Linked DNA regions of Homo sapiens: regions 1, 2, 3, 4 and 5 are each linked to region 6. Evidence: promoter capture Hi-C in human tissues and cell types (Jung and others, 2019). All regions are on one chromosome and are shown on one strand. Each heading gives the region's core, a stretch centred on a gene start or on the middle of the fragment in contact. The rest is flanking DNA. Distances are from core to core; before and after follow the strand shown.

What was found. The method cuts DNA at HindIII sites, captures the fragments that hold promoters and counts their contacts. A contact is called where the count stands out against the background at its distance.
Region 1: a contact is called between a fragment that was not itself captured here and the fragment with the promoter of HMGN2 in region 6, in 1 of the 25 tissues and cell types used here (dorsolateral prefrontal cortex).
Region 2: a fragment that was not itself captured here is called in contact with the fragment with the promoter of HMGN2 in region 6 in 1 of the 25 tissues and cell types used here (neural progenitor cells).
Region 3: a contact is called between a fragment that was not itself captured here and the fragment with the promoter of HMGN2 in region 6, in 2 of the 25 tissues and cell types used here (IMR-90 fibroblasts and lymphoblastoid cells).
Region 4: a fragment that was not itself captured here is called in contact with the fragment with the promoter of HMGN2 in region 6 in 1 of the 25 tissues and cell types used here (hippocampus).
Region 5: a fragment that was not itself captured here is called in contact with the fragment with the promoter of HMGN2 in region 6 in 3 of the 25 tissues and cell types used here (adrenal gland, hippocampus and spleen).

The regions. Positions count from the first base shown.
Region 1 is chr1:26,748,082-26,752,047 of GRCh38, forward strand. The region is part of intron 4 of ARID1A (AT-rich interaction domain 1A); the gene reads left to right. Among named protein-coding and RNA genes, the nearest start is that of PIGV, 38 kb to the right of the region's middle. The HindIII fragment of the contact is 4,216 bases long and covers 1-3,966 here.
Region 2 is chr1:26,856,510-26,860,575 of GRCh38, forward strand. ZDHHC18 (zDHHC palmitoyltransferase 18) reads left to right here. Exons shown (of 8, transcript NM_032283.3): 8 at 1-1,095. Among named protein-coding and RNA genes, the nearest start is that of SFN, 4.6 kb to the right of the region's middle. The HindIII fragment of the contact is 5,523 bases long and covers 1-4,028 here.
Region 3 is chr1:26,127,658-26,131,825 of GRCh38, forward strand. No RefSeq gene overlaps it. Among named protein-coding and RNA genes, the nearest start is that of PDIK1L, 18 kb to the left of the region's middle. RefSeq lists a silencer at 1,001-1,295. The HindIII fragment of the contact is 7,689 bases long and covers 1-4,168 here.
Region 4 is chr1:26,144,354-26,148,543 of GRCh38, forward strand. No RefSeq gene overlaps it. Among named protein-coding and RNA genes, the nearest start is that of FAM110D, 13 kb to the right of the region's middle. The HindIII fragment of the contact is 8,228 bases long and covers 1-4,190 here.
Region 5 is chr1:25,989,590-25,993,926 of GRCh38, forward strand. It overlaps PAFAH2 (platelet activating factor acetylhydrolase 2), which reads right to left. Exons shown (of 11, transcript NM_000437.4): 2 at 1,138-1,274; 3 at 1-12. The coding sequence starts at 1,227. Among named protein-coding and RNA genes, the nearest start is that of PAFAH2, 6.3 kb to the right of the region's middle. RefSeq lists an enhancer at 3,982-4,337. The HindIII fragment of the contact is 7,134 bases long and covers 1-4,337 here.
Region 6 is chr1:26,470,312-26,474,638 of GRCh38, forward strand. It overlaps HMGN2 (high mobility group nucleosomal binding domain 2), which reads left to right and starts at 2,129. Exons shown (of 6, transcript NM_005517.4): 1 at 2,129-2,316; 2 at 3,172-3,216; 3 at 3,392-3,421; 4 at 3,774-3,824; 5 at 4,261-4,327. The coding sequence starts at 2,302. It overlaps DHDDS (dehydrodolichyl diphosphate synthase subunit), which reads left to right. Exons shown (of 9, transcript NM_205861.3): 9 at 1-995. RefSeq lists enhancers at 736-1,444, 1,445-2,154 and silencers at 1,524-1,939, 1,824-2,093, 2,354-2,643, 2,684-2,853. The HindIII fragment of the contact is 14,054 bases long and covers 1-4,327 here.

The sequences.
Region 1 (3,966 bases), core at 750-3,249, 280 kb after region 6:
GGCTAAGGTAGGGAAGACCACTGACAAGTATAAATTTAAGAGTTTACAAAACCAAGGAGGCCATCCAGCCCCTAGTTCTAAGCCATGTTCAGCACAGTGCCAACTTTGCCTTCCCTGGCTGTCCTTGCTTGCTTTCTGGTTGCTGTAATTCTGAGGGGCAACCAGGCTTGCTGTAGAGAGGAGAGCCAGATGATGTGGAAGCCTAAGGCAACACCCCCTCCTTATTACACTTCTCATACCCAGAACTCTGCTTGCTTTCTGTGTTCCTTTCCTCTCACTCCCCTTTCCTGCCCTCTTTACTCAAGTTCTAAGATTATAGCTGATGATCTTCATAATAGAACAAACTCTGTTTGGTTGACCTTCCTAACAGGGAATGCTTGGCTTTGAGAAAGTAGGGGGTTCCTAACTTCTTTGCCTTCTCTAGCTTTACAGTGCTCTTACTTCCTGCTGGGATTAGAACAGCCCTATTCCATAAATATGCACTGCTCTTGGCTGCTGTAACTCAGGCCCAGCTCTGACCCAGATTCTTTTTTTTTTTTTTTTTTTTGTCAGATTTGAGTCTATTAACTAGTGACCCTCAAAACACTTCATACATTTTTGGCCAAAAAGTGGTTACTGACTGGATAAGACAGAAGCCTTTGGGGGGCAGGGTGACTGGTCGGGCAGGTAACATGGTATTATACAGGCCTGATGGGGACTGTGACAAACTGAAAAGCAGGGTTTCAACCAGTTAGCGGCCTATGGGAGTTCCAGAATCATCATCATCATCTTTTTTTTTATTTTTATTTTTGGAAAACTCTCGGCCAGGCGCAGTGGCTCACGCCTGTAATCCCAGCACTTTGGGAGGCCGAGGCAGGCAGATCACGAGGTCAGGAGATGGAGACCATCCTGGCTAACACGGTGAAACCTCATCTCTACTAAAAAATACAAAAAATTAGCTGGGCATGGTGGCGGGCACCTGTAGTCCCAGCTACTCGGGAGGCTGAGGCAGGAGAATGGTGTGAACCCGGGAGGCAGAGCTTGCAGTGAGCCAAGATCGCGCCACTGCACTCCAGCCTCGGTGACAGAGCGAGACTCCGTCTCAAAAAATAATAATAATAATAATTCTCTGGGGTCTGTGGGTCTGTCCCTGCAGTGTCTTGTGGACTGCCCCGTGTAGCTTTGGCTCTCTCTTGGATTTACTCCCTTTGAGCTGGTGCCTAGAATTTCTCCGGGGGTAGGGGACAGCTGTGAGGAGCACCTTCTCATCTATCCTTTGCCAGTTCTCATTGTGTTTGGTGTTTGTTTTATTTGTTTGTTGGGGGGCGGCGGGGAGCGACAGGGGAAATGTTGAGCAGAAGCACTCGATGTGATTAAACCTCCGGCTGAGCAGATCTGTAGGAGTAGAATATCGACCCCTGGAAAATCAATGGCTGCTGCAGTGACCCAGCCGCTGTTTGCAGGGGCTACCACCACAGGAATGCAAGCAGCCCAGCAGTCTTTCTTCTCCCCACCTTTTTACCTCAGCAGTGCCCTCAGCCTCCACCCAGAGGGTCAGACCTGCCTCAAGAGATTTTGCAGAGGTGGGTTAGAACAGCACGTTCTCGTATTTTCACAATTAGATTGAAATTTCTCCAGTGACACAGAGCCCTGCCTCTGGCAGCCTCCTTTCCAGACATTCCTTTTCTGCACTGCTGCAGTTCTAGCAACAGCTCTTACCAAGTTGCCAAAACCCATTCGGGGTTGTACTTCTGAGTTTTAAACAGGAGAATCAATTCTCTTGATACCAGCACCCAAGAGCCCCTCCCTTGTGGAGGTCTAGAATTCAGGTACTGGGGTATAGGATGGGGGAATAGAGATTAAGGGAAAGAAAGAGGACTAATAGAGGTTGTGTCTAAAGAGGATGCTTTTGAGTAGATAATTCATTGAGCAACATTTATCAAGCATCTTGTCGTTTGTGTGTCTGGCATCTTTCTGGTCACTAATAGCCTGATCTTGCTCTGGTCCCACAGGCTAGTGGAGAAAAAGGGCGGATAGAACACAGTGCCATCAGTCCTGTAACACTGCTTCTAGAGGAGCCTCAGAGGAACTCTGTGCCCTGCCTATAGGGTGAGAGTAGGGAACTAGTCCTGTGACTTGGGTCAAAATAGATGGTTTAATAGAATGGCTAGCAGATCTCTGCTTGGAGCATGGAGGCTTCTGATTCCTCACTGCCTCCACAAAACTGTTTTCATCTTGGAAGTTCCCAAGGCTAAAAAACAATTTTAGCCTTTAGTTGTTGTACCTATAATGCCAATTCTACTCTGGTGGTTGGGAAACCAGCCAGCCTGATGTGTGTGAAAGGAGAGCTCAGTTGCCCTATTGTTGGAGCACCTCTGTGGCCAGAGGGTTGAAGCTTGCTTGGCTTTTAAAGCCTCTAGAAAGGAGCCTTCCCGTCTTGTAGCTTGGAGAGTGGGGTCCCTAAACAAAACCCAAACATCCTGCAGTTTGGAAGGGTGGCTGCAGTGCTGGGTGAGGAGGAAAGTGTGAGGGTTTGAAGTGGCCTAAGAGGAGGCCATCTAGAGGCCAGGAATATCTTGATTTTTTTTTTCTCTGTGAGCCACACCCTTGTGATTGATAAAAGGCTTAGAACATATTCAGTTTGAATACCCAGCAGAGACCAGGCTCCTACCTTCATGGGACTTCTACCTTCATGGGACTTCTGCTTGTTTCCCTACATTCAAAGTCACCCTCCCCACAGCCCTCTGTCCTCTTACACATTAAGTACCCTACAGAAAACCCAGGGGTGAGAAAAAGTACTGTACCCTTTAATTTAGCATAGAAAAATTAGGTTGAAGTTGAAGGTTATCAGTGAAAGGGCTGATTTGAAATAAAGGCTGAAAGTTATAGCAAGAGTAATTAGGAAAGAGGGGGGCCGGGCATGGTGGCTCACACCTGTAATCCCAGCACTTTGGGAGGCCGAGGCGGGTGGATCACTTGAGGTCAGGAGTTCGAGACCAACCTGATCAACATGGTGAAACCCCGTCTCTACTAAAAATACAAAAATTAGCCGGGCGTGGTGGCGAGGGTCTGTAATCCCAGCTACTCGGGAGGCTGAGGCAGGAGAATCACTAGAACCTGGGAGGCGGAGATTGCAGTGAGCTGAGATTGCACCACTGCACTCCAGCCTGGAGGACAGGGCAAAACTCCGTCTAAAAAAAAAAGGACAGGGGAACACATAGCATCACAGATTTGTAGAGTTTGATTATCTAGTGTAAGTCTTTCCTTCAATAAAGGAGTTAAGTGAGCCTCGTGAGGTTAGCCAGTTGAGTCAAGTAGCTAATCACGCAGCATGTCTGGTGATATAGGTTGTTGGCCTTACCTCTATTGGAGCATGGAACCCAGCCTTTGATCATGTCAAGCTTCTATTAATACCTTATGGAAAGAGTGTAAAGTAATAATGGATTTGAACCTCAGGTCTATTTAATAGCTGTCTGTCCTTGGGCAAGTCACTTCTGAACCTGCTTCTTTGTTAAAATGGGGGTAATACCTATATCAGAAGATGATTGTGAAAATTAAATGAGAGTCAACCACTCACCTTAGGGTTGAATATGTGATAGTCACATATTCATGTCAATTCTGCTTCCTTTCAAAAGGAATATATAAAGGAACTTTATTAACTTTATCTAACATCCTTTGTATTTGGAGATTTGGTCTCCAGAGCTTTCTTTATGAATTCTGATGTGTATATAGGGAGTTTCCTCTTGGAGACGGGCCCCTGAAAAGCATTCTGGAGACAAGAAGAGTCTTAACCCTTCTCTCCTGTGTCTTCCCCGTCAGGTGGCCAAAAGGTATCAGGAAGAATGAATCATTATCTTCAGAACAATAGCCTATGTAGAAAAAGAGAAGAGGGAGTTTGGTGGGGGATTTCATCCTATGCAATGGTTTCTAAGATACAAACCAAGTTTTTGGAAACTTGACGGGGGCAAGTAGGAAACACATTTTTCT
Region 2 (4,066 bases), core at 17-2,516, 390 kb after region 6:
AGCTGGAAGAGGAGGTGGAGGGTGAGGCTGGGGAGAGGATGGCGAACCTGCCCTGAGGTGCTTGGGTCTGTGCTGGTGGGGTCCTGGTATGCAGGGGCCACCGGTCACTAACACTCTTATGTCCTGGCTTTCTGTCCCCGCTGAGCTTTCTCTCACCCGCCCGTTTTCTCTCCTGCTTCATTGCCTGCTGCCTAAGCCTTGGCCCTTCTCTCGGGCAGAGGCAGGTGCTGTGGCAGCACCTCTCCCCACCACCGGGGCCCCTGCAGGCCGCCTCCCTCCTCCCAGGCCTGCTAACCCTCTCTCTTCTCCTTCTTTGCTGTCCTGCCGGGGATCTCCAGTGTGTGCGGGGGCTTAAGGACCTCCTGAGGACCGCTGCTCTCTGCCTCTCCAGGAATGGCCTGGGGGGAGCCAGGCACCCGGCACCTCCACCTGCCTAACCTGTGGCCCATCTGCCACCATCTGTGCCTACAGGGTCTGCCCCCCAGCCTGCCCGGCCTGTGTGCTCTCTAGGACCCCCATAGGGGGCAGGGGCTGGCCTCTTTGCCCCATTCCCGCTCCATGCCGGCCAGAGTGTAGAAAGCCATAACGCAGCCATCAGCACAATAATGTGACTCTACGCTGATATGCTCCCTCTCTCCTCCACTGACTTCCCCTTCCCGGATTTGTGAGGTGTCAAGACTAGGAATCTGGCCTTAGAGCCTGCCCCTCCACCCCCTCAGATCAGGCATAGCCATAGTCAAGCCCAGCAGGTTTCCTCAGGAGCTGTCTGGGGTGTTGATGGTGGATGACGCTGCTGAACAAGTTTGGTGACTGTTCTAAGCACAACTGGCTTGATACTGTTCCCACGGCCTGTCCACCTCCCACCCCCAACCCTCCACCAGAGTAGGTAGGATGTAGGGAGGGTGCGTGCCTCCTTTGCTCTAGGCACTGAGGGACCAAGCTAGCCGTGCACAGCCCCATACACTTCAGGGGACTAAAGGAAAGAGCTGAGCCAAGGAAAATCAGCTGAGCCCAGGGCTGGGGGCTGCTTGTCTGCTATCCTGTACCTTTTTTTTTTTTAACCAAAATAAAGATTCCCCTCTTCTTGCCATACCATTGGCTGTCTGGTGGCGCCTTTACTTTGGGGCCCAGGGATGGGACCTGCAGTGGGCGTGTGGAACATATGGCTCCCCCTCGCTCCCAGCTTTCTTCCAGCTGGCCAGTGCTGCTCTGGAGATTTACAAGCACAACGAAGCCAGGAGGGACACAGGAAAAGTGGCTGACATCCTTTTCACTCTGCCCCTCCAGAACTCTTGGTCTCAATTCCAGACACCACCCAGCCTTAGCTGACCTCTGGATTCTGATAGGTCCCAGTGCAGGCTGAGACAGAGGGTTTAACTCCAGTTTGGGACTGCCATACCCATGAACTGAGCCCAGCCCAGGGTAACGATCTCATGGAAACTTCTCTCTCCCCAGTTGCTGCACTACATCAAGATACACACATGTGCATACACTGTACTATGGGCTAAAAAAATAGCTACCGCTACCGTTCAGCAAGGGCTTGCCGAGTCCCGGGCCCATTTTCTCATCTTAACCTGTGAGGAGGATGATGTCAGCCTTTTTACAGATGAGGGAACTGAGACTCAAGGAAGAAACAGGAGCTGCCCAAGGTCACCCAGCTGGCAAAGCAGCAAATCCCAGATCGGAACCTGATCTCTGCCCCGAGCTCTGAGCCATCTGCACTACCCAAGGAATGAATACAGCGGTGGGAGGATGAGATCTTGGAGAAACCCTAAAATTAGAGAATGTCATAGCCAGTAGAGGGCTTAGAGTTGATCTGGGCCAGCCTCCTTGTTTTACTGATGGAGAAATTGAAGCCCAGAGGCAGGAAGGGACCTGCCCAAGGCCTTATAACAGAGCTGGGATGCAGTCCCACACTCTGACCTCATTCCATTCTCTCTCCATAAATTCTGCACTGTCTCTAGACTGGACTGGTTTAGATGTGGGATACTCTAAACAGCAGTGCCTTCAAGAGAAAAAGAATCAGAACTACGAATCACTTAAAAGTAATGTAAGCTACTCTGGGCACACTGCCTATGGGGTCGCCCTGCTCCACAAGGAGCCACAAAAATAATTAAAATAATTTAATATCCCTTCCCAAAGGTAACCAGTAAAGTAAGCTCTTGGCTAGGTAACTGGACTCTTGTTCACAACTAGCCAGTGGGAAAAGGTGCTAGAGCTTCCTCTGGCCACCTGTTTAATTTGATCATTCCAAGACAGAAACATTTCTTAGGAAGTTCTTTCTAGAATCTACCTGGTGTCCCTCCCACTGCTATCAGAGCCCTGTCCTCTGTCCTCAGTGGAGGTAGAGAGCAAATGGTTGCTGCTTTCTTCATCACAACCCTTCAAAGCCTATTATTACCAGCTAAGAAGGATTGGTTGACTATGGGGCCAGAGCCCCTGAGCCTGCTGGTAGAATGGATGCTGTACAGGAGGGTGGGGAGGTAGCAGGCAGAATGAGGAAAGCCCCTTTGAGCTGCAACCCCAGCTCCTGTCCTGCTGACTCAGACAGCTGACTGTGGAGCTCCATGCCCTGCCAGGGCCTGCTGCCTCCTGCCCGTCTGAGCTCCTGAACTTGGGAAATGGAGGCCCAGAGGCAAAGGGAGGTACCTGAGACAGGAACTGAGTCAGGATCAACAGGCCAGAGCGGGCAGGAGGTATCAGGCAGCCTGGCTCCCAGATGCACCCCTGAGCTCCAGCAGGGGAGGAGTAGGAATGAAGGGGCTTCCTTGCCCTTGCTCATGGCTATGCGGAGGGCGTGAACCACCACCAGGTCCTCTGGCTTAAGTGGCGGGAAGCAAATGGTCCCTCCCTGGACTCAGGCTCCAAAGTTCCTGGGCCTGCCTTCCAGGTTCCCAGTGTCCTGGGATCTCCAGCTTTCCCCAGGACTTGGGGAAGCCCCGGCTGGATGACTAGTACAAATGAAGGCCCCTGAGGTTCCAGGACCTGCTGAGGTCACAGGAATATCCTAGATCAAGCTTGTCCAACCCACGGCCCACAGGCTGCATGTGGCCCAGAATGGCTTTGAATGCAGCCCAACACAAATTAGTAAACTTTCTTAAAACATTATGAGATTTTTTTGCAAATTTTTTTTTTTTTTTAGCTCATCAGTTATTGGTAGTGTTGGTATATTTTATGTGTGGCCCAAGACAATTCTTCCAATGTGGCCCAGGGAAGCCAAAAGATTGGACACGCCTGTCCTAGATGGAGAGGAAGGAGGCAGTGCTGAGCACATCTGGCCATTCATCCATCTGGAGAGAGAAGGCTATGGGCAAACTGCTTCCTCTCCCCTGTAGACACCCAGCTGGGAAGGTCTGGCCTTTGGCTAAGTCCTGGCTTGGGGTCCTTCCTCATTTCACAGAACCTAACTCTATGTTAGTGCTTTGTGAGTATATGTTGATCATAATAAAGTTGACGGGATTTTTTCACATGATAATAATAGTTGTCATCTGGCCGGGCATGGTGGCTTATGCCTATAATTTCAGCACTTTGGAAGGCTGAGGCAGGTGGATCACTTGAGGTCAGCTGTTCGAGACCAGCCTGGCCAACATGGTGAAACCACATCTCTACTTAAAAAAAAAAAAAATACAAAAATTAGCTGGGTGTGGTGGTGCACCCTTGTAATCCCAGCTACTCGGGAGGCTGAGGCAGGAGAATCACTTGAACCCAGGAGGTGGAGGTTGCAGTGAGCTGAGATTGTGCCACTACACTCCAGCCTGGGTGACAAGAGCGAAACTCCGTCTCAAAAAAAAGAAAATAATAATAATAATAGTTGCCATCCATTCTACTGTGCTTTCCATTAACTCGTGTAATCCTCACAAGTCCCATTTTATAGTTACAGGAACTGAGGCTCACAGAGCTTAAATCACTTGGCCAAGGCCACAAACAGCTATAAGAATTACATTTAGGCAGTCTGATTCCAAAGATACTAGTCTATTCTGTATCTCATAGACAAACAATACATATTCACTTTTTTGTTGTTGTTTTGTTTTGAGACGGAGTCTTGCTCTGTCACCCAGGCTGGAGT
Region 3 (4,168 bases), core at 1,266-3,765, 340 kb before region 6:
AAGGATAGTTCAATAAAAATCCCCTCAGCCCAGTTTTCTTTCCTCCTTCTACTTGCTGATCACATGATTGATAGTAATTCAGGATGTTTACTGTCTCTTTCACATAGACTACCATGCGTGGAAATTAGGAAAGTAGTAATAAGTACCAAATACTAGAATGACATGCCATTTCTCCTGGCTTTAGGTAGAAGGCAGGGAGCGTTTACTGACGTGATTTGAGAAGCAACAGTAGAAGCACAGCTGTGAGGGCGGCGTGGAGCAGGGCAGCAATGGCTAGAACTTGGAAGTTGGAATTACAGTAGACTCAGTGTTTCTCAACTCTGGCTACTTGTTACAATTTTAACCTGAGGAGGGCAAAAGCAAGCAAAAATCCTGATGACTTCTGCTTCTGGCCATTATGGAGTAACAGGGTTCTATTCCTGCCATAAACAACTCAAATGTCAGACACTGGGAAACTAGCAGTGCACGACAGCAATCCCTGGGAGAAAAGGATCAAATGGGGTGAGCCCTGTGGTTGCCCCAACTTGGAGGGAATCTTTAGGCTGCTGTACAGGGAATAAGTACCTAAACAAGGTTCAACAGTCTCCCTGAGTTGAGGAGACAGAATTTAGGGTTCAGGGAGCACAAGCCAGCTAGGATTCATGGGGCAGAGTATCAGAGAGAGAGAGAGAGACAGATGGTAACAAAGAATTCCAGACCTTGTTGTTTATTTTTTTTCTTTTCTTTTTTGTCCTGTTTTTTATTTGTCGGTGAGAGTTCCAGACCTTTGCAGAAAGTTTTTTTCAAGACATCAGCTGAGGCAGGGCCAGGTAACTCACATCTGTAATCCCAGTACTTTAAGAGGCCAAGCCAGAATGATCACTTGAGCCCAAGAGTTGGAGACCAGCCTAGGCAACATGGTGAAACCCTGTCTCTACAAAAAATAAAATAAAATTATCCAGGTGTGATGGTGTTTGCCTATAGTCCCAGCTACTTGGAGGCTGAGTTGGGAGAATCACCTGAACCCAGGAAAGTCAAGGCTGCAGTGAGCTGGAATCACCACGCTGCACTCCACCCTGGGCGGCAGAGCAAGACCTGCCTTAAAGAAAACATACACACTCACACACACACTCTCTCTCTCTCTCTCTCTCACACACACACACACACTCACACACTCACATTCACACACACAGTATCAGCTAAGTACTAATCAGTCATGCTTATGAAGAAACTATCAGACCTGAATGCAGGAAAGATCCCCTGAAAGGATTAGGCAGAACAATCCTGGAGCTCACACAGGACCAAGAATAATTGATATTTCCACCAGCCAGAACAGAAAGACCTTCTTCCAATATACAGAGCATCACAGAAGAGTATTGTCTCAGTAGTGAGGCCAAGGCTAACAGCTATTCTGGACCTGTCTATCCAAGCTTAAAAGTAAGTCTTGAAAGGTACACAGACAAAATTATAGCAAATTTGATTTAAAGATCTATATTGGCTTTTCTTTGTGATTCTAGAAAAAGGCAACACCTTATTCTATAAAATACAGTGAGTATTCCGATAAGCCAAGCAGAAAAGTATGGTTTTATAGACAGAAAAGGCCTGAGAAAAGCAGAAACAGAGAACAGAAAATTGTCTGGTTGTTTCAAAGTTACTTTCCTTATAGAGTTAAAACAGACACAGGCGTAGTGGGTTGCTGCGCCCTCCCAGGCGGTCCCAACAACTAGTGGACCAGAGCCCCCAGGGGACACAGCCTAAGTCCCTGCCCATCAGATCATCTGGAACTTCTGCCCAGAGAGGATCTGGAACTTCTGCCCAGAGAGGAGAGAGCGACTGGAAATTCTCTCAGTCAAGGTCCAAACCTAAAAGAATCACTGGCACGCCCAGCAGGACTAAGACCAATTTTTAATGAAATGTTTTCTGTGTTTGGGGTGCATAACTATATTTCTTTATAACAAAATTACTTAAATGTTTTGATTTTTTATTCCTCATATGCATGGCCTGTGACAGACCAGGGGACTTGTAAGCTCACAGTCCATGAGGTCAGAAGCTGACATCCTAAATGTCTATTTATAATGAATTTAAACAGACCAAAAACTCTGCTATGAAACTCGGAAAGACAAGCAATTTAGCAAAAATGAACCAGTCTCTAAATAAATAAAAAGATTAAAATTTAAAAATTAAAAACAACAACAACAACAAAAACAGAGGGAACTTCATTTTCATGCCAGCTCAGGTAAACTGGGCCCCTTTTGATTGGTTGCTGCGAATCTCCTGGGGGTATTTTTTTGGTAGCGGGGTGGGGGGTGGACTGGCCTGTTTCAGAGTTCAGTTTAATTATGTGGCACCCAGCATGAGTGACTCCATTCTGATTTGGCTCGGTCTGCTAGTGCTAGTGTACGAGGCTAGTCCAAAATAATGGTCTCCTATACATTTTATTTAACAAAATACATTTTTTTCTAAGTAACATAATGTGCTAGAACAAAGCTCAAAAATACTTGAGTCCAAAAATTCCACTTCTCAACAATATAAAATTCAAAATGTCTGCCAGCCAATTAAAAATATTAGAAATGGGCCAGGTACAGTGGCTCATGCCTGTGATCCTAGCACTTCGGAAGGCCAAGGCAAGAGGATTGCTTAAGTCCAGAAGTTCAAGACCAGCCTGGGCAACATAATGAGACCTCATCTTTACCGGGAAAAAAAAAAAAAGGAATTAGCTGGGGGTTCTGGTGTGGTGGCACATGCCTGTAGTCCCAGCTATTCAGGAGGCTGAGGCGGGAGGAGCACTTGAGCCCAGGAGTTGGAGGCTGCAGTGAGCCGAGATCGCACCACTGCACTCCAGCCTGGAGACAAAGCAAAACCCCAACTCAAAAAAAAAAAAAAAAAATTAGGACTTCTAATTTCTGGTTTGGCACAAAAGGAGCCTAAAAGTCACCACTCCATCCTAACAACAATTAAAAAGCTGAACACATGGAAAAATCAACCACTCTTCTTAGATATGTCAGAGCAGTGAGGTCACAGGGCAAACTGCTGCCCCTGTAATTGGAGAGATGCATTGGTAGATACAGAATATCACAATTTACTAGTGTGGAAAAGGTGCAGGGGTAGGAAAACCTAAACTGTAATTGATGAATTGCTTAGTATGGTCAACTCTGAGAGTTAAAAAGCCCAGGGGGACCCAATCACAGGAGGCTCCCCACACTATTACCTCCAGGAGCTCTGCCAGATCCTCACAGGTGCTCATTCTTCTGCTAACGGGAGGGGGAAAGGAACCATTTTGAAACCTGCCTGAACATTCTGTTCTTAACAAGGACAACCCTCAGGAGCAACTATTTTACCACAGCCTCATCTGTTGTGGTTTTATCAGCTGACCCTAACCTATCTGAGGGTATTCCAGCCCCCTCTAGCCATCCTGACCACCTAAGGGAACTTCACCAAGAGAAGCACTGGTGAAGTTCACAGTCCAAGGGCACAGGCTCACCTATGAAAAGCCCATGACCAAATCATAGGATTATAGAACACCCACCATCCCCAAATGTTACTACATTACTAAAGGCCTATTTATGGCAGTTCCTTTAGCCAGTACATTCCATCCACCTTTCACAAAAAAGTACAAGGGATACTAAAAAGCAAAAAATACAATTTGAAAAGTCTGAACAATCATCAGAATCTGAGTCAGTTATGGCAAGAATCCTGGAACTATCAGGCCAGGGATTTTTTTTTAAATTGTGATTAATATGCTAAGGACTTCAATGGAAAAAGTAGACAATATGCACACACAGATGGATAATGTAAGCAGAGAAATGGAAATTCTAAGGGTCAAAAAGATGCTAGAAATCAAAAACTCTGTAATAGAGATGAAGAATGCTTTTGATGGGCTCATTAGCAGACCGGACATGGCTGAGGAAAGAATTTCTGAGCTTGAACATATGACAAAACAAACTTCCAAAACTGAAAAGCAAAGAGAAAACGTCTAAAAAAATTTTTTTAAAGAACGGAATATCAAATAATTGTCGGCCAACTATAAAAGGTATAACCTACATGTAATGGGACTATGACAGGGAGAAAAAGGAGAGAAAGGAACAGAAGCAATAGTTGAGGTAATAATGACTGAGAATCTCCCCCAATTTTTTTGTTTTTTTGTTTTTTTGTTTTTGAGACAGGGTCTGGTTCTGTCACCCAGACTGGA
Region 4 (4,190 bases), core at 631-3,130, 330 kb before region 6:
GAGTCAGAGGTTGCAGTGAGCCGAAATCACGCCACTACACTCCAGCTTGGGCAACAAGAGTGAGACACCATCTTAAAAAAAAAGTAGTTTTTTTTTTAAGAGAAAGGGAAAGTACAGCAAATAGAATGTACATTACAAATGAGTGAAATAAATAAAAATATAGCAATATCTACAAGTGGGCTAAATTCTCCAAAGATAAAGGATGTCAGACTAAATAAAAGAATAAAATCCACTATTAATATGTTCTGTTTACAAAGACAAATCTAAAATATCAGGACATAGATTGGCAAAGTTTAGAAAAAGAAATACTTGGCAAAAAAAAATGAGGATGAAATAGCTATATTGAAGCTAAAAGCATCACTAGAGATAGTTTCTACCTAATGATAAAAGTTCCATTCATCAGAGAAAGAGATAATATTTCTAAACTGGCACACATTTAATTAACACTGCCTGTCAACACTTCACTGTCTTTATTACTGTAGAATTAAATAAGTGAACCCTTAACATCATCCTTGGCACATAGCAAGTGCTTAATAAATGTCAGTGATAGCAGCAGCAGGAACATACTCTGTGACTGGTGAAGCCATTTGACTTCTATGAGCCTTAGTTACCTCTTCTGAAAAGTGGCCATAATAATAAATTATTTTTTCAAGTTGCTTTGCAAACCAAATGAGAATAATGTATGTGAAGATGTTTCATACACTACAGAGAACAATATAAACGCAGAAATCGCTGCTCTTATCAGTTAACTGGTATTACAAGCAGCAGTGTCAAGGTAAGCAACCATCTGAGCAGTCCCCAGGTGAAACAGCAGCTCTGAGGATGTCCAGGTGTGCGCAGCAAGACCAGGCAGCGGGGCGGCCCCCTATGCTAGTGAAGCTCAGGAAGAGCCCGTGGGCGAAGTGGTATCAGGAAAGCTTCTTGGAGGGTGAAGCCCGCCCTCTGGTGGATAACCCTTGTTCAAACTCAATCAGACGAGCTTTCCAGAGGTCCTTGGGGAAACCGTTCCTCAATCTGAGTCTCACATCTCCCCAATCCCATGGTCTTGCTTTCTGCAGATCTTCTGGGGTAGGGTGGGATAATTTTGGAAACAAAATTATTGTGACCTGTGCCTCATGGTGCCAAGCTCACCTAAACTCAGAGTCCTTCCGTTAGGGGCAGTCTTTAAACGGTAAGCAATTTACCATAGGTCCCCACAGTGCACCACTAGCCAAGGCTTGGACTCCCATCTCCCAGTGACCTATCCTTTTTAGATCACTAGGAATGGCAAGCGTGGCCTCTCTAGCTCAACCGACCAGGCTCGAAGGTCTGGAGTGACTATTGTCCATCTGCGTGTCCTGCATTAAACTGGAATGGCCTGACCTTTACACCCCACCTCCTTCAATCACCAGATACAGGCTGCCCTAGGAAGGGTGGGAGCTTGGCTGAGTGGGCTCTCAGCCACTGAGGCAGACCCTGAAGGAGGTGACAGCGGCAGGCCATCTGCTAACTGCACCCCCTACTAGTGGGCAGCAGTGGACACCATTGAAAGCTGCTGTCTACAAGAACCCGCCCATACACACTGAAGGCGCAGCCCCTTCAGAATTCCTCTGGCCCTCTTCCCAAGAGGGAACTTAGTGGAGGAACGCCAGTGGGACGAACTACAGCCCCCACCACGGCAGTCCGTCCTGGGGCTGCAGGTGATGGCCCTCATCTCCCTCCTCCTCCATTGGTTCTAGACTCCCCTCACCCTCAGCTGCCACTTCTGCTGGCCTCAGTGGCTCACGTGGTGGTGGGATCCAGACCTTCATCCCCAAGAAGCCTGAGCCCCTGGTCATCACGCCCTTCTCAGGCCAGAGTTGCATGACCTGTCCATTTGCAGTTATAGTGGAACAAAGGAACACCAAGAAGCACCTGAGCAGATCACCCTGGATCCACAGGGATCCTTCTTGCCCCCACTGTATAAGAGCAGCCTTATTCCTATTTATAATCAGGGTGAAACACCTGTGCCAATGCCAAGACAGGGGTGCCAAGACCCTGCTTCTTTTTTTTTTTTTTTTTTTTAAGACGGAGTCTCCCTCTGTTGCCCAAGCTGGAGCGTAGTGGTGTGATCTCGGCTGACTGCAACCTCTGCCTCCTGGATTCTCATGCCTCAGCCCCCATGTAGCTGGGACCACAGGCGCGCGCCACCACACCCGACTAATTTTTGTATTTTTAGTAGAGACAAGGTTTCACCATGTTGGCCAGGCTAGTCTCGAACTCCTGAACTCAGGTGATCCATCCACCTCACCCTCCCAAAATGCTGGGATTACAGGCATGAGCCACTGTACCCAGCGACCCCTGTTCTTGATGGCTAGTCCTGGACACAAGCAGCTCAGAGCACCCAGGAGGTAGACACTGGTTATAATTTAATGCAGATCTGTTTTTCTTTTTCTTTCTTTTTTTTTGAGGGTAGGGGGATGGGGGTCTTACTATCTTGGCCAGGTTGGTCTTGAACTCCTGGCCTCAAGTGATCCTCCCACCTCGGCCTCCCAAAGTGCTGGGATTACAGGCATGAGCCACCATGCTCAGCCCTTCAATACATATCTTTTTGGGAAAAATGTGCCCCCTTGTAGGACCAGGACCTCTAACCCTGCAGAGCCCAGAGTTGCAGGGCTGGCAAGTACAAAGTCTCCCTCTGGGCCACTGGAGTAACAGTAAGTGGGGTCACTCTTCCTTCCACCCCTTGGTTCCTGTACTCCTTTTTTCTTCCTGTACATCTTTCTTCTTCTCCTTTTTTCTTCTCCTGTACTTCTTTTTACTCATCCAAGGAAGGGCCTGCTGCCCATCTGCAGGGAGAGTAGGCAGCTGACTGCCTATGGCCATCACCTCCCTCAGGGTCTGCCTCAGCTGCTGAGATCCGCCTTCCCCAAGGTCATGCTCTTCCCAGGGCAGACCACCTCTGGTGATTGAGGGAGATGAGAGTACCAAGTTCTGGCCTTTTGACCCAAAGTGGGACACTGATGGGCAATCCTCACTCCAAAGCATCGGCTGAGCAAAGACCTTTATCTTTTTGTTTTCTTTTTTTCTTCATTTTCTTAAAACAGAGATGGGGTCTTGCTACATTGTCCAGTCTGCTCTCAAGGTCCTGGGCTCAAGTGATCCTCCCACCTCGGCCCCCCAGAGTGCTGGGATTATAGGCATGAGCCACCGTGCCAGCCTGAACAAAGACCATGTAAACATGGCATTGGGTAAATACAAAAATTAGCTGGGTGTGGTGGTGCACACCTGTAATCCCAGCTACTTGGGAGGCTGAGGCAGGAGAATCACTTGAACCCGGGAGGTGGAGGTTGCAGTGAGCCGAGATTGCGCCACTGCACTCCAGCCTGGCTACAGAGCGAGACTCTCTTAAAAAAACAAGTCTTAAAGGAGGGGAAGGAGTCAGCAAAGCACGTAACTGAAGGAAAAGCATTCCTAGCAGAGTCCACAGGCCCCCAGGTGGAGCGTGGTTGTTGTGTTAGAGGAACAGACAAGGAAGACATGTGCATCTGGACAGGGAGGATGGCAGGCGGGGAGGGCAGGGAGCTCACAGGGCGTGGCCACGGGAAGCCTGCAGGCTGCTAAGGATTTGTCTTTATCTCGAGTGAAATGGGGAACCTTTTTCAGAGTTTTGAGCAGAGAAGTGACATGACTGATATATTTTTAAAGAATTGATCTAGAGTGGCATTGAGAATAGACTCTATGCAGGATGAGGTTAGAAAGAGAGAGACTTACTAGAGACTACCACAGCTGGGTGCGGTGGCTCACGCCTGTAATCCCAGCACTTTGGGAGGCCCAAAGCAGGTGGATCACTTGAGGTCAGAAGTTCGAGACCAGCCTGGCCAACACGATGAAACCTCACATCTACTAAAAATACAAATATTAGCTGGGTGTGGTGGTGGGTGCCTGTAGTTCCAGCTACTCAGGAGGCTGAGGCATGAGAATCACTTGAACTGGGAGGCGGAGGTCGCAGTGAGCCAAAATTGAACCACTGCACTCCAGCCCAGGTGACAGAGTGAGACTCCATCTCAACAAATAAAAATAAAATAATAGAGACGACTACAGTCCCAGGCAAGAGGGGACGGTGGCATGGACCAGGGCAGAAGGAGTGGAGCAGGAGAGAGTGCTCTAAATCTGGATGGATTTCAAAGATACAGCCTACAGATGCTGATGTATCAGATGTGGAATGAAAG
Region 5 (4,337 bases), core at 1,342-3,841, 480 kb before region 6:
AAAGAAGCTCCCCTGTAGGAAAGAAGAGAGCAGCTGCTCAGAGCAAGGAGCCCAGGCTAGATTTCCCAACAGCCACACTCAGCAGGTGTTTGGGGCACCAGCAAAACAGGGCACCAAAACAGGGAAACTGAAGTTTCAATTAGCATGCCTGAATTTCACATTCAGAAATCTGGAAAGAAGCAATTTGATTTTTAGCATATATGTAAAGCTTACGTTATTTCAAATAGCCAACTGTATTTTGAATTACATTGTGGGAGGGGGCACCAAAAATATTTGAGTGCTTGGGACAATGAAAGATTTAAATCTGGCCCTGAACCTAGGCCTAGAGGAGCCCCAGGAGTTAGAGATTAGTTCTCGTGCTGAACAGGGTGGCCTTGGTAGCTCATCCAGGCCACTCTGCTCTAGGACAGCCCCTGGGAAGCAACAGCACACTCATTTTACATGGGAGTAGGTGAGGGGTTACTAGGAAGTGTGTGCCTCTCAAGGGAGACAGGAAGTCCAAGGGCTAGCAGAGAAAGACCTAGGAACTAAGCCAGGCACAGTGGCTCATGCCTGTAATCCCAGCACTTTGGGAAGCCGAGGTAGGAGAGTCGCTTGAGGCCAGGAGTTAGACATCAGCCTGGGCAACATAGCAAGGCCTCGTCTCTACTATATATACATATATATAAGATAGAGGACCAGTCCAGAAGTCAAAGCAGGAGGGGAAAACAGATCAAGGCAGGAGAGAGAAAAGGAAGCTGTCCCCCTACCCAGGTCAGGGAGTCCAAGGCCAAAGGCACACGCCCATGGCTCTTTCTCTCACACACTCAGATTATGATACGATTAAAACCCTTCCAAGATCAGGCATCTGCCCTCAAGAAAGGTGAGAGGATCTGCGAGCTGCCTCTAAAGCTAGAGTCCCCCCTTTCCTCCTAGGTGGAAAATGAACGCATTATCTCTGTCTATTGGGATGTTTCTAATGTTTGGAAAGAGGAAGAAAAAGCTCAGGAAGACAGACCTGGGGGCTTGATAACCAAATCCAGACCCGCTCTAATTCATTTTCCCCACCGTGGGAATACAGGATCAGACTTGTGATCAGTAAGTCACGGTGCCGGCAGAAGCAGTGCAAACAGAAGAAAGGGAGCTGGGGACACTTACCTGGAGATTCTGACCCTCCATCACATCCCCACAGCCTACGAGGTGGGGTCCTGTGACAGGTGGAAAGCCCACAGACTGGTTGACCCCCATTTCATCACCGGGTGAATCAAATGACTTGCCGGAGCTGAACTTGCTGGCTGGATGGGGGAACACAGAACAGCAGCCGCTTGCTGGTTTCCTCTCGGCTTCCTGTTGCTGAAATGTGTTATCTGTTACCCTGTCCACCCCTCCTTAGCACCTCATCCTCCCTGCCGTCGCTCATTAAATCTTGCACCTACTACTTTGCTACATTGCCTTTGCCAAGGTTGGGGGTTGTTTTTTATTTTGCTAGGGTGAGGAGATGGCTGGAAGACGAAAGAGAGCCATCCATACTCCTTACAGCCCATTAACGTATGTTTATCCAGCAGCTACTGCTGCAGAGACTGTCACACAGACCTTGCTCTCCTGAGGCTAATAGTAACCACTAAGATCCATTATTTACGGTTAGCACTGTACTGACCTCTTTATAGACACTATACACATTGCATCATTTCATTGTCTCAACCACTCTCTGAGGTAGGTACTTTTTTTTTTGAGACGGAGTCTCGCTCTGTTGCTAGGCTGGAGTGCAGTGGCATGATCTTGCTCGCTGCAACCTCCGACTCCCTGGTTCAAGCGATTCTCCTGCCTCAGCCTCCTGAGTAGCTGGGATTACAGGCACGTGCCACCATGCCCAGCTAATTTTTTGTTTAATTTTTAGTAGAGACGGGGTTTCGCCATGTTGGCCAGGATGGTCTTGATCTCCTGACCTCGTGATCTACCCACTTTGGCCTCCCAAAGTGCTGGGATTACAGGCGTGAGCCACCGCGCCTGGCCTGAGGTAGGTACTATTAAGACCTTGTTTTGGCCAGGCACGGTGGCTCACGCCTGTAATCCAAGCACTTTGGGAGGTCGAGGCGGGCAGATCACCTGAGGTCAGGAGTTCAAGACCAGCCTGGCCAACATGGCGAAACCCCGTCTCTACTAAAAATACAAAAATTAGCCGGGTGCAGTGGCAGGCACCTATAGTCCCAGCTACTCAGGAAGCTGAGGCAAGAGAATCGCTTGAACCTGGGAGGCAGAGGTTGCAGTGAGCCGAGATTGCACCACTGCACTCCAGCCTGGGTGACAGAGTGAGACCCTGTCTCAAAAAACAAACAAACAAACAAAAGACCCTGTTTTACAGATGAGGAAACTAAGGCATAAAGAGGTTGAATAACCTTCCCAAGTTACCCAGTGGCAAACCCATCTCTGCCTAATCCGGAAGCTAAGTTCTTAACCATTACTGATCCTGCTCAGGGGGAGATTCAGTTATACAGATGCAAAGTTACTGAACTAAGCTTTTTCTTAAAACCGTTTGATTTTTTTGAGAGACAGGGTCTTGCTATGTTGTCCAGGCTGGTCTCAAACTCCTGGGCTCAAACAATACACCTGCCTAGGCCTCCCAAGTAGCTGGGATTACAGGTAAGAGCCACCACACCCAGCTTTTAAACTACTGAATATGGGGTAGCACTTATGCTGGGCCTTTAAAGATGAGGAAGTTGAGAGGCAGGGGAGGAGGAAGAAAGCACTTATAGAAAAAATCCTAAGAGGAAAAAAAGCAGAGGTAGGGAAAAGTATGATGTGGGCAGTAGATCAAACAGATGCTTTCAGCATGACAGGCATGCACACTCCTGACTAGATAACATTCCTACGGCTCAGCTGCTTCCTAAACTGGTGCCAGTGCTCCCCTAACCCTCTTCAGTTTCATCATCTCCAACACCACCATCATCATCATACTTACTCTGTGCCAGGAACTATGTTTAGTGCTTTTCACATATTATTTTATTTAATTCTTTCAACAGTCCTCTGAGATACGTATTATTATCTCATTTTACAGATGAGGAAACAGATGCTTGACAAAGGCAATTTACCCAATAACATATGGCGAGCAGAGCCAGAATTCGATCATGGACAATGTGGTTGTAACATGAGAATGTCAAACTTCCCAGTGTCCCTTGCCTTGTGATTTGGGTGGGGCTGACCCCTCCTTAACCTCCGGAGTTGAGCCTTAATTAACCGGAGCCAATCAGTCCTTCTTATTCTCCGGTCAGTATTTGGATGAAAAGTGCGCGTATGGCATTAGGTTGGTCCAATAGGCGTAAAACCCGGGACTTTGGTATGACGGTTGAGGGGAGAAAAGTTATTTCCTGTGTTGGACTAGTGTGATGTGCAGATGTCACCTGTCAAGTGGCCTTGAACCACAGCAGCCACTTTTGCCACCTTGAGGATGAAGATACCCATGGTGGATGGGAAAACCAGAAGAATCACAGAGAAATAGAGGCCCATTTGTGAAGACATTAAGAATCCACAGATTAGACCATACCTGAAACCTGACCCACTCCTAGACTTTCTAGTTACATGAGTCAGTAAGTTCCCTTTCTTGGTTAAACCAACTGAAGTTAGATTTCTTTTGGTTGTAACCAAAAGCATCTAAATGGATACACACTGAGTCTGGGGTCCACATGTTAATGATTAAATTATTCTGCTTCCTTTAAGATGCTCTGGGAGGGATTCAGGAGTTCCAGTCAAAGCATGTCTGGGTAAGAAGAGACCTAAGGGAGCATTTCCGTCAATCCCCTCCACAATCGTTTTCCCCTTCTCCGCGTACATACACGTGCTTTACCAGGGAAGACACCAAGGTCCGGAGAGATTAAGTGAGCTGCTCAGAGTCACAAGCAGAACGATGATAACAACACACAGTCTCCTGGTTGTCAGCTGCCACTTGTCTGGTCTCAACAATCCTAACATCATTCTATTTAACTTTGAAAGATAAGAAATTATTTTCTTTCTACTACAGATAGCATCTTCATTTTGTTTCTTTTTAGCAAATTTAAAAACAAACCCAATTCTTTTGAAAAAGAAGCTAAGCTCCTGATGTCAGTGGGTTGTTCAGCCAGAGTGAAGGGGGATGAGCTCTGCTTAGCCTGAGACCCTGACCTTTCCCCATCGCTTGTTGTTGAGGTCTGCAAATGGAAGACCTACTGCTGGGGCCACAAGACACCTGTCACTCACATGACAATGAAGCAGCTGCAAGTTCAACTGTCATAAAAGAAAAGCAGATAAAAGACCACAGGAGTTCTGAGAAGAAACAGTGCTCCTTTAGCTTGGAAGTAGAGAGCAGGGGAAGATGGGAAAGGCTC
Region 6 (4,327 bases), core at 879-3,378:
CTTCTTTTTTTTTTTTTTTTTGGAGACAGCATCTCACCCTGTCCTGGCTGGTCTCGAACTCCTGACCTCAGGTGATCCGCCGGCCTCACCCTCCCAAAGTGCTGGGATTACAGGCATGAGCCACCATGCCAGACTTCCCATTTTACTTTCTGCAAGCTGTTTCCCTAGCAGCTCCCTCTAGGGGAGAGGTGAAATCTTGCAAGTTGTAGCAAGAGCACACAGGAAACCCCTAACTTTCCTATACCCCACCCGCCTCTTCCCCTTTCTGTCCCGGGATACCTGGCGGCAAGAGACTTCTTGGCTATTGTCCATGCTCCCAGAATCAAGCATAAATGCCAGACACGGCGATTGAGAAGCCAATCAGTGAACCCTTTGGCAAAGCCCCCATCCACACCTGGCACTCCCCTCTACCAATCCCTGGCACAGGGTTCCTGGAGAGCAGGTGCTGTACATTTTACAGCTTTACAATGGGGCTGTTGACAGCCATAATTAGGGAGGCATGAATTATGCGGCTATAATGCAGAGCCCTACAATTAAGGCGGGAATGAGGGGCTGGAGGCAGCAAACGGAATCTGCCCTATGAGCGTGGCTGTTGAGTCCTGTCTCCTGGGTCTGACTTTCCGTAATATGATTGGGGTACAGTAGAGGTGATTAATGGGGCTGGCATCTCTCTTTGGCCTGAGGTTCTGTATTCTGGGAAAGGTACACAGGGTGGAGTAGGGAGAAGCTGCCCCAGGAGGCGATGTAGTGGTGGAAAGAAGAGGCAGAGAGGTCGTCGTCGTCGCCCAGCAGCAAGGGCTGCAAAATAGTAGAACTCGTGGTTGCTTTGGACAGGTGTGATTTGTGCAAGCCAGGTTCAACCCTTGCCTCAAGAAATCAGATGGGACCAATTTAGTGTCCTTCCACCTGTGAGCCAAGCCCCCATTTGAGGACATCTATCGTATTCTTGTGTGCTGGGTCTCAAATAGAATTTTTAAAGATTCTTAGATGTAAAACTTGTTTGCTAACTGCAACGGAAGAACACCTTCTTTTGCTGCTGCAATTGCCTACCCTCCCTCAGGTGCACTTGGCTAGCTCCAAGACCCTGGCTTTGGACTAGGGGGCACCGGAAGAGCCCTTTTGCCATCACACCACCTGTTCCTCTACTTGTTTCCTAATCCCCGGGCGCTTTCCTCCACCCTCCTTTCCTCGCGCAAGTGAAAGGCAGCCAGCTTGACAGTGTGGAAGGAGGGATTTCGCCAGCTGCGGCTGCAGTGCCCAGGCTTGGTGGCCGCGTCGGGTTGGGCAGCTGGGCAAAATGTCTCCGAGAGGGGTAGAGTGTAGGGGGAAGTGAGTGCTGGTAGACCTCGACGGCCGCTCTCCACCATACTGTGGCGGGGTCTGGAGGTTTGGGAATACAGGGACCTTAAGGGAGCCACCCGAGAGGAGTTGGGGGTGGGGGCTTCGATAGCATTTGGGGAGGCGGCTGCGCAACGGGTGCTGAAAGGACAGCTCCTACCTGACCCACGGCACCCAAAAGGCACCTCTGCATGGAAAGTCTCCCCCTGAAACCCCTAGCCCACCTCGAGTGGGACCGTCTTTCAGGTGAGGTGCACGAAAGGCTTCTCCGAAGTGGCAGCTCGGAAGGATGCACGTCCGGCTGCGCCAAGCTGGTTTCCCCGCCTTTTTCCCACTTTGGCGTCAGCCTGGGCTCTGGGAACTGCAGCCTGTGCCTCCAGCCGCGCGCTTCCTCCTGCTTCCAGAGGAGCAGGGCAGTGCAGCCAGGCCTCGCAAACCCCTCTTCTGGGGCCCCCAGCGGGAGCAGGAAGGAAAGCCGCTGAGATGCGCCGTGAGTGTCGCACGGCTTGGAGAAGTGGGTTGCTGGGTTGCATAAGGTGGAAGGAACTTGCTAGTTTGCAAAAGACAGCTCTTGGCGGGAGCCGGAACCCGGAGCCCGCCGACTCGCGCACCCCTCCTCATTTACTGCCTTCGACGCGCGCCACCCCGACTGCGCCCCCACCCCCTCGGCGCGCCGCCGTCTCCGCGCACTACCCCCCCCACACACCCCCCTCCTCACTCCCTCCAGAGGAGGTGAGTTTAAACCCCGCCCACGTGACCCCAGCTGGGCCAATGAACGGCGGCGGGAGGTGAAATCCGGTTCTAACCGGTCCGGGGCTCCCAGCGCTATAAAAACTTTATAAACCCCCCGGAGCCCGAGCAGTGTGAAGAAGAGGCGAGAACGACCCCCGGACCGACCAAAGCCCGCGCGCCGCTGCATCCCGCGTCCAGCACCTACGTCCCGCTGCCGTCGCCGCCGCCACCATGCCCAAGAGAAAGGTACGTGGCGCGAGGGCCCCAGGCGCCGGGCCACCACTGCCGCCACCGCCGCCGCCGCCTCCCTGGTGCAGGGAGCGAGAATCGGCGCCGAGCAGGAGCCAGCGCAGCCTCCCCGCGCGGGGGCTGGAGACGGTGTCGGGCAGCTCGGGGCTAACCCTGAGCGGCTCGGCTGCCCGCGGGCGCCAGAGGCCATATTGGAGGAGCGGCGGCCGCGGCGGGAGGAGCCATGTTGGCGGCTGTTTATCCCGCTCTCCTCGGGCTCGCCGCCCCCGCCCCGTGCCCCCTCCCCCATCGCGAGGGCCCCTTCCCTCCCCTCCCTGCGGGCGGGCAATTCAAACCCGAAAGGGCGGGAAGGCGGCGCTCGGGGTTGGCGGGCGGGGGAAAGCGCTGCCGCCAAAAAACCGCCGCCGTGAGGGGCGGGGCTTGTGCGGTATGGCCCCGCCCCCTCGCCCACGTTCCCCGCGCACGAGACGCGCGCTGTCGCCGCCCACGAGTTCCCCGGGCTGCGCGCGCCTCCCTCTCCCGCCCTCGACGGCTGCCATAGCAACGGCGCTGGGCTCCGCCTCCGGAGGGGGTTTGTTTGCGCCATCTGCAGCTGTTGCTCCTGCCTGTCGCGGTGGTGCGGGCTCCGCTGCCCTCCCCGGCTGCGCTCCGGTCCAGCCCTCGCTTCTCGGGGTCGGCGAGCCGGAGCTCCTGCGCGCGCTTCGTTCTTATACGAACGTCGGGCTCACTCATTTATGTCCTAGAAAAGTTGTGTGGACGACTGCTTTAATTTTCATTTTTAGCACTCTAAAGTTTGGGAAGTAATTAAGAACCACCTCAAAATCTGCAGTTTTTTGTTCTTGTTTCTTATAGGCTGAAGGGGATGCTAAGGGAGATAAAGCAAAGGTGAAGGACGAAGTAAGTCATTCTCTCTTCAAGGGTCAAAGCCTTGGACTAGCAGAGGCCACTGGACTCGGTGATTAACCGTAACCTGTGTCCTGAATTTACACTCCTATAATCTAGAGCAAATTGATACCAAACTTTCAAAGCGACTTACCTGTCCTATTTCTAACTTTCTCGTTGTCTTTAATAGCCACAGAGAAGATCCGCGAGGTTGTCTGCTGTAAGTGTATGCTTTTGAATTTTCGTGCTTGTCCCTGAAACTAAAAAACATCAAAAAACAATTCCCTTTGCTTCCATGAATTATGGTTAGTGCCTGGTTTTGAATCATTGCCTCTACTTGGGACTCTTGCCCCTTTGGGTTTTGCTGGTTCTGAAATTCTGATGCCTGTAGCCAAAGTGGGACATTTGAGTGGGCTTCTGGAAATCCAACATTCTAGAAGAAAGCCAACCACAAAAACTTTTGAGGAGGAGGAGAAACTTCTCTACCCTTGGTACTTTTGGTTGGTTGTGGGTGGTTTTCTTCAGTCCATTGTACTGATGTTCACTTTTTCCTCTCTTCCTGCCAAAAAAAGAAACCTGCTCCTCCAAAGCCAGAGCCCAAGCCTAAAAAGGCCCCTGCAAAGGTAAGTGCTAACATTGGAACTGATCATTTTCACAGAATGAGGACTGTCCTTAGTGCCTTAACTTAATTAGCATAATGGTGCCTCCATTAATGGAGGTTATAAACTGTGTGGATAGCTTACCTCGTCCGTGTCATTCATAACGTTGGTTTCCTGATCAAGAATTCTGTTGTTAGTTTATAGGAAAATCTGCATTTAAATATTAAATACCCCAGGGTTTAAACTAATTTATTCTTCTGTTACTTAGGAAATTCTAAGTACTAAAGATTATAGCAAATTACAGATAATTTAGCCTAGTTTTGATCAGTTGTTCTTGTCAAATGGGTGAGGGTTTGTGTTTTATCTTGAGTAAACAATCCTACCTTGTGCAGAACTTTGCAGACCATACCTTGGTAATACGAAATGGGGAGAAACAGTTCTATTTTTTCCCCTTTTTCAGAAGGGAGAGAAGGTACCCAAAGGGAAAAAGGGAAAAGCTGATGCTGGCAAGGAGGGGAATAACCCTG